Linked DNA regions of Homo sapiens: region 1 is linked to region 2. Evidence: promoter capture Hi-C in 16 types of primary human blood cells and fetal thymus (Javierre and others, 2016). All regions are on one chromosome and are shown on one strand. The core of a region is centred on a gene start or on the middle of the fragment in contact, and the rest is flanking DNA. Distances in the headings are between cores, read along the strand shown. Region 1 overlaps RBFOX1 (RNA binding fox-1 homolog 1). Region 2 holds the start of RBFOX1 (RNA binding fox-1 homolog 1).

Region 1 (2,700 bases), core at 104-2,603, 590 kb before region 2:
AGCCTGCGAATGTATCATATGACATGGTAAAAGGGAATCAAGGTTGCTGATTAGCAGACCTTAAATAGGGAAATTATTCAGGATCATCAAGATGGGCTCCAGGTAATCACAAGGGTCTTCAAATATGGGAGAGGGAGACAGAAGGGTCAGGTCAGAGTGACCTGATGGAAGAAAGGCTTGCCTGGCCATGGCTGGCTTTGAACTTGGAAAAGGCTGTGACCCAAGGGAGCAGAGTGGATTCTAAAAGTTGGGAAGGGCAAGAAAAAAGATCTCCTCTACAGGCTCAAGAAAAAAACAGCCCTGCTGGCACCATGATTTTAGTCCAGTGAGACACACTGCAGACTTCTGATCTCTACAACTATGAGATGACCAACTTCTGTTTTTGTTTGTTTTTGAGACAAGCTCTTGCTCTGATGCACAGGTTAGAATGCAGTGGTACAATCATGGCTCACTGTAGCGTCAAACTCCTGGACCCAAGTCATCCTTCTACCTCACCCTCCTGAGACCACAGGCATGTGCCGCCATGACTAGTTAATTTTTGTAGAGATGGGGTCTTGCCATGTTGCCCAAGCTCATCTCAAACTCCTGGTCTCAAGCGATTCTCCCACCTCAGCCTTCCAAAATATTAGAATTACACATGTGAGCCACCATACCTGGGCAATTTCTGTTGTTTTAAGTCACTAAGCTTGTGACAATTTGGGAAATAGTAACAGGAAACGAATAAGGGTGAAAACTGTTATCCCCATTTTGCAGATGGTAAAACTAATGTGTATAAACATATAAACAAAACCCACAAAGAGGTGAACAATAATACTGGGATTTAAGCCAGTCTTTCTGGCTCAAAAGATAGGCTTTTCCCCACAGGATACTATATGGCTTTACTTTGAAATATTTCACTTAATTCAGGTATCTATTAATGATTATAACACAAACCAATGCTGCCTTAGAAATAATTTGAGAAAAAATGATGATACCAAGGATACAGACTCAAAATAGGTCTGGTAAGAGTTAAGAAAGTGAGGAGTAATCAATGAAATAGTATTTCTTGAGAACCCGTTGTTTCAGGTGCTATGAGACATTGTCTCATTAATTTCTCTCAAAATTCTGTACAATGAAGGACTTTTTTGATGTAGAAGATAAAATATTACAGAGGATGTATCACCTACCAAAGCCTTCCCAGTAAAGGGTCAGAGTTAAGGTTTTAGGTCAAGCTCATAGCTGTTTCCAAGTTTGTATATATTCTATTTCAGTATGTTGCCAACTCCAGAAACAAGGAGGTTTGTGGACAAAGAGAATTTTAAAGGCTAAATGAGGATGTAAGTCATGTTAAGTTTGTTCTCCCATTCTATGATCGCTCATTAGGATGTGAAACATTATTCGGGAGCTATGTTGTAGACACTGAATTTTGGAACCATATACAGCAGGGGGAAACCACAAAATTCTAAAATAATTATTTCTTATTTGCACACTCACATGCCCACATAGGCAGACATAATACAGAGAGGGAAGAAGACAGAAAGAGAGAGGAGAGATAGAGGAGGAAGAAGAGAGAGAAAGAGAGAGGAGAGAGAGAGAGGAGGGAGACAGGACGGAGAGAGAGGAGGAAGAGGGAAAGAGGAGGAAGAAAGAGGGAGAGGAGATAGATAGGAGAGAGAAGAGAGGGGAGAGAGAGGAAGAAAGAGTAAGGAGAGACAGAGGAGGAAGAGAGAGAGGAAGAGAGATAGAGAGCGAGAGAGAGAGAGAGAGAGGAGAGAGACTGAAAGACCTAACTGCTTATGATAACTGGAAATTGGTCATATGGTTATAACATTTATATTAAATGAATTATTATATCCTAATGCTTGATTTTTAAGGGATGTGAATATGAGAGCTGACATTTCTCTTCCCTTTTAATCCTAATAACCACAATGAATTGTTCCAAGATGGTTCAAAGCACATTCTGATATCTTTCTGTCATTGTCCCCAATCAGTAGTCAGATGAACACTCATCTGTTCACCCACAAATTCTCTAGGAAGCTTGCTAAAATGCAGAGTGCTGACTTCCACTCTCAGGGACTATTAGTCAGTAGGTTTGGAAGGCAGCAGCCTCAGGTATATTAAAAAATGTATAGCCATTTTTGGCGATTATTAAAAAGTCAAGAAACAACAGATGCTGACAAGGCTCTGGAGAAATAGGAATGCTTTTACACTGTTAGTGGGAATGTAAATTTGTTCAACCATTGTGAAAGACAGTGTGGTGATTCCTCAAAGATTCAGAACAAGAAACACCATTTGACCCAGCAATCCTATTACTGGGTATATACCCAAAGGAATACAAATCATTCTATTATAAAGATACATGCACGCGTATGTTCACTGCAGCACTATTCACTGTAGCAAAGACGTGGAGTCAACCAAAATGCCCATCAATGATAGACCAGATAAAGAAAACGTGGTACATATGCAACATGGAATGCTATACGGCCATAAAAAGGAATGAGATGTTTTTTGCAGGGACATGGATGGAACTGGAAGCCATTATCCTTAGCAAACTAACACAGAAAACCAAACACCACATGTTCTCACTTCCAGGTGGGAGCTGAACAATGAGAACACATGGACACAGGGAGGGGAACTACACACAATGGGGCCTCGTAGAGGGGAAGGAGGAGGGAAAGCATCAGGATAAACAGCTAATGCGTATGGGGCTTAATAACTAGG
Region 2 (2,814 bases), core at 158-2,657:
TCACTAAGATGCCTCCTCCTGCACACCCTGCGGGCGGAGGCAGCGGTCCGGGGGCGCGCTGAGTGCACGCTTGCAGCCGGCCAGGGAGACTAATCAAAGTGCGCAGGCAGGCTCCCGCTGCTCCTGGCACCTAGGACTCGCTCCCAGGAGGACGGACGAGGTAGCCTGGATGCTTCGGAGGGGCGCTCTGGGGCAAGGAAGGACGTGCTTCTGGAAGCGACGCACAAGGGGGCTCAGGGTCTCGGCCTCCTGGGGGTAGGGGGGGACACGCCTCGAGATCTTTCCACACACCCTGAAAAAGTTCCCGTCCAGAGCGCCCAGACTGGCGCTAGGAGGAGGCCAGTTCTCGGGGACCTAGCGCTTCCCTCCATGAGACCTTCTGGACCTGACCCACCAGGTCAGGGTGGGTGCAGAGGCAATGACTCCGCCTGGACTTACCTAGAACTCCCGGCGAGCCCGGCTGCGGTCACGTTCTCGGCCCCAGACCCCCGAATTCCCGTGCGCTCTCTGCACCCCCAGCCACACTCACCATAAGCTGGAGGCGGCGGAAGGGGGTGCTGGTTTCTCACGCACTGTCCGCAACTTCGCGGGCAGGTCAGCCCCGCCCTGGCGCGCCTGCCTGGGCGCGGCGAGGGTCCGGACAGGCGGGGACCCTGGCGGCCACTGGGTGGGGGTCTGGAGCGCAAGGACTCTCAATCCCGGGCGCGCGGTCCGCTCCTGCTCTCTCTGCCTGGGCAAGAAGCTCGGAGTTCTCCTGCTCCGGACGCCGGGGCGGGGCCCACGGCTGGCTGTCCCCTCCAGATGTGGGGTGCTCGGCTCGGCTCACTCCTTCCTTCTTCAGCCCCGGAGGCGCGCGCGTGGGTCCAGCCAGTGCCGCCGCCTCTGCTGTTCCCGGGGCTGGCAGAGCGCCCCCGCCCCACCGCGGGTGCTGCTGGGGGGCTGGGGCGGAGGGGGAGGGATTCCCCTCCGCGAGTTCGGGTTTCCCCACCCGACGCGGCCCCTGGGCTCCGTCCGCCGTCCGCCACCCTCCGCGCTGCTTGGAGAACCACTTCAGGGCAGCGCAGCCAGTCCCACCGACTCTGGCTGGAGGAGGCGGCGGCAGCGCGGCTCGCACGGGGACTGGAAAGGAGGTGACCTTCAAACCCCGCGCTCGGGAGACCAGGAAGGGGGCTGGGGTGATCGAGGGAGCGGTGTGTGCACCCAGACGGCCAGCAAGAGCGCTTGTAGGAGGGCGGGAGAGAATAAAGAGGAAATCTTCCAGTAAAAATATAGATTAGAAAATAAACAAAGGAGAGCCGGAGAGAGCGCGAGAAAATGTGTGCATGTGTGTGTGTGCGTGTGTGTCTGTGTGTGTGTGAGCGCGCGACAAGCAGCGAGCAGCCCCGGCTGCGGAGCCAAAAATAATCTGGTGCGCGAGGGAGCGCCCCCTCCCCCTTCCCCTCGCCAGCGCCGCCGCCGCCGCGGTCACGCGTGCAGCCCTGGATTCCAGCGGGCGGCGGCGGCGGACACGCGACCCGGTACCCTGGTCTCCTGGCCTAAAGGGGACAGAGGGTGAAAGTTGGATGCTGGGGCAATGAGCCCAGGACTTTCACCTGCGCCCGTCCTCGTCCTGGTAGTCCCCAGGTGGGCTCACTCATTGAGCACCAGCGCCCTCCTCCCAACCCCAATCAAAGTAGACAAATCCCCCACTAGAGACGCCAAGTGGAGGCAGCTTCTTGCCCCAGTCCATTTCTTCTCTGAGGAAGTTTTCTGGCAAGTCTTCAAATCTTCCGGCCAGGCAGAGATCGAGCCCTATCCAAGATTCAAAAAGTTCTCCAGGCTGGATGGGATGCAGGGCTGGGGTGGGTGCGGCTGGCCTGGGACGCCCCCACCCCGCACAGCTGGGCCTCTCCTGTCCTGCCCCCTTCCTGGCCACCTACTCCCGCAATGGACGCTGAAGGGGTCTAGGGATTGTCCTCCTAGCAGATGTCTTACAGCCAGAAGCCCCATGACGCCTTAATACACACTAGCACTTAATAAGCATTTACTTTCCACCAGATGCTGTTTTAAGCACTTTACATGGAGTCTTTTCAACAACTGGAAGTAGATACTGGAGGTTTATCCATTTCACAGATGCTTAGAGAGATTAAAGCAATATTTCTCCCTTCCTGGGTCCCACTCTGGACTGGAGTGAGAAACTCTGCTCTTCCCCTACCTTTTCCTTTCCCTCCCTCCCTTCCTTCCTCCCTCCCTTTCTTCCTTCCTCCTTTCCTCCCTTCCTTCCTTTCTCCCTTCCTCTTTTTTCCACAAATATTCCAGGGGGTTTTGTTGTACAATAAAGTCAGTCTGAGGTTCAGTGAGTTGTAATTTGTTCAAGGTCACATAGCTGGCAAGGAACCAGGACTCCCCAGGCAGTCTACCTCATTTTATGTGGCACCACCCTGCCTTCTGAAGGGCAGGTGGCATTGGACAAGGCCAGATTCCAGCCTTGAGCACTTGATCTGAGGCGCCTGTTCATTTTCCCATCCTGTGATGTGACTGTGTTTGCACTTATACCATGGATCCTCTTATAAGAAATGCTGTAAGCTTTCCAAAACAGGGGGCCATGTGATGTGCATTCCTTTGTACTAGATGTACGTGTATTTCCTAGCGCCCATCAAGGAGCAGATTCCTTAAGGGTTCCTCTTGCAATCCTATCGGGCTGCGGTTTCTTTCAACCTCAGAATAAAAGAAAGGGAACTTCTGCCTATAACTATATTACTTTTTAAAGCACGCAATATTTAATCATCATTTGAAAAAGTAAGTTTGCAAAATCCAGAAAGATATCTTTATCAT

What was found. Contacts are between HindIII fragments. The CHiCAGO score rates a contact against its expected background, and 5 or more counts as called.
Region 1: a fragment that was not itself captured here is called in contact with the fragment with the promoter of RBFOX1 in region 2 in 1 of 17 cell types (erythroblasts); the score reaches 5.0 in erythroblasts.

Annotation. Positions count from the first base shown.
Region 1 is chr16:6,606,466-6,609,165 of GRCh38, reverse strand. All of the region lies in intron 2 of RBFOX1 (RNA binding fox-1 homolog 1), which reads right to left. Among named protein-coding and RNA genes, the nearest start is that of RBFOX1, 590 kb to the right of the region's middle. The HindIII fragment of the contact is 1,331 bases long and covers 688-2,018 here.
Region 2 is chr16:6,017,617-6,020,430 of GRCh38, reverse strand. RBFOX1 (RNA binding fox-1 homolog 1) reads right to left here and starts at 1,407. Exons shown (of 16, transcript NM_018723.4): 1 at 439-1,407. The HindIII fragment of the contact is 5,499 bases long and covers 1-2,567 here.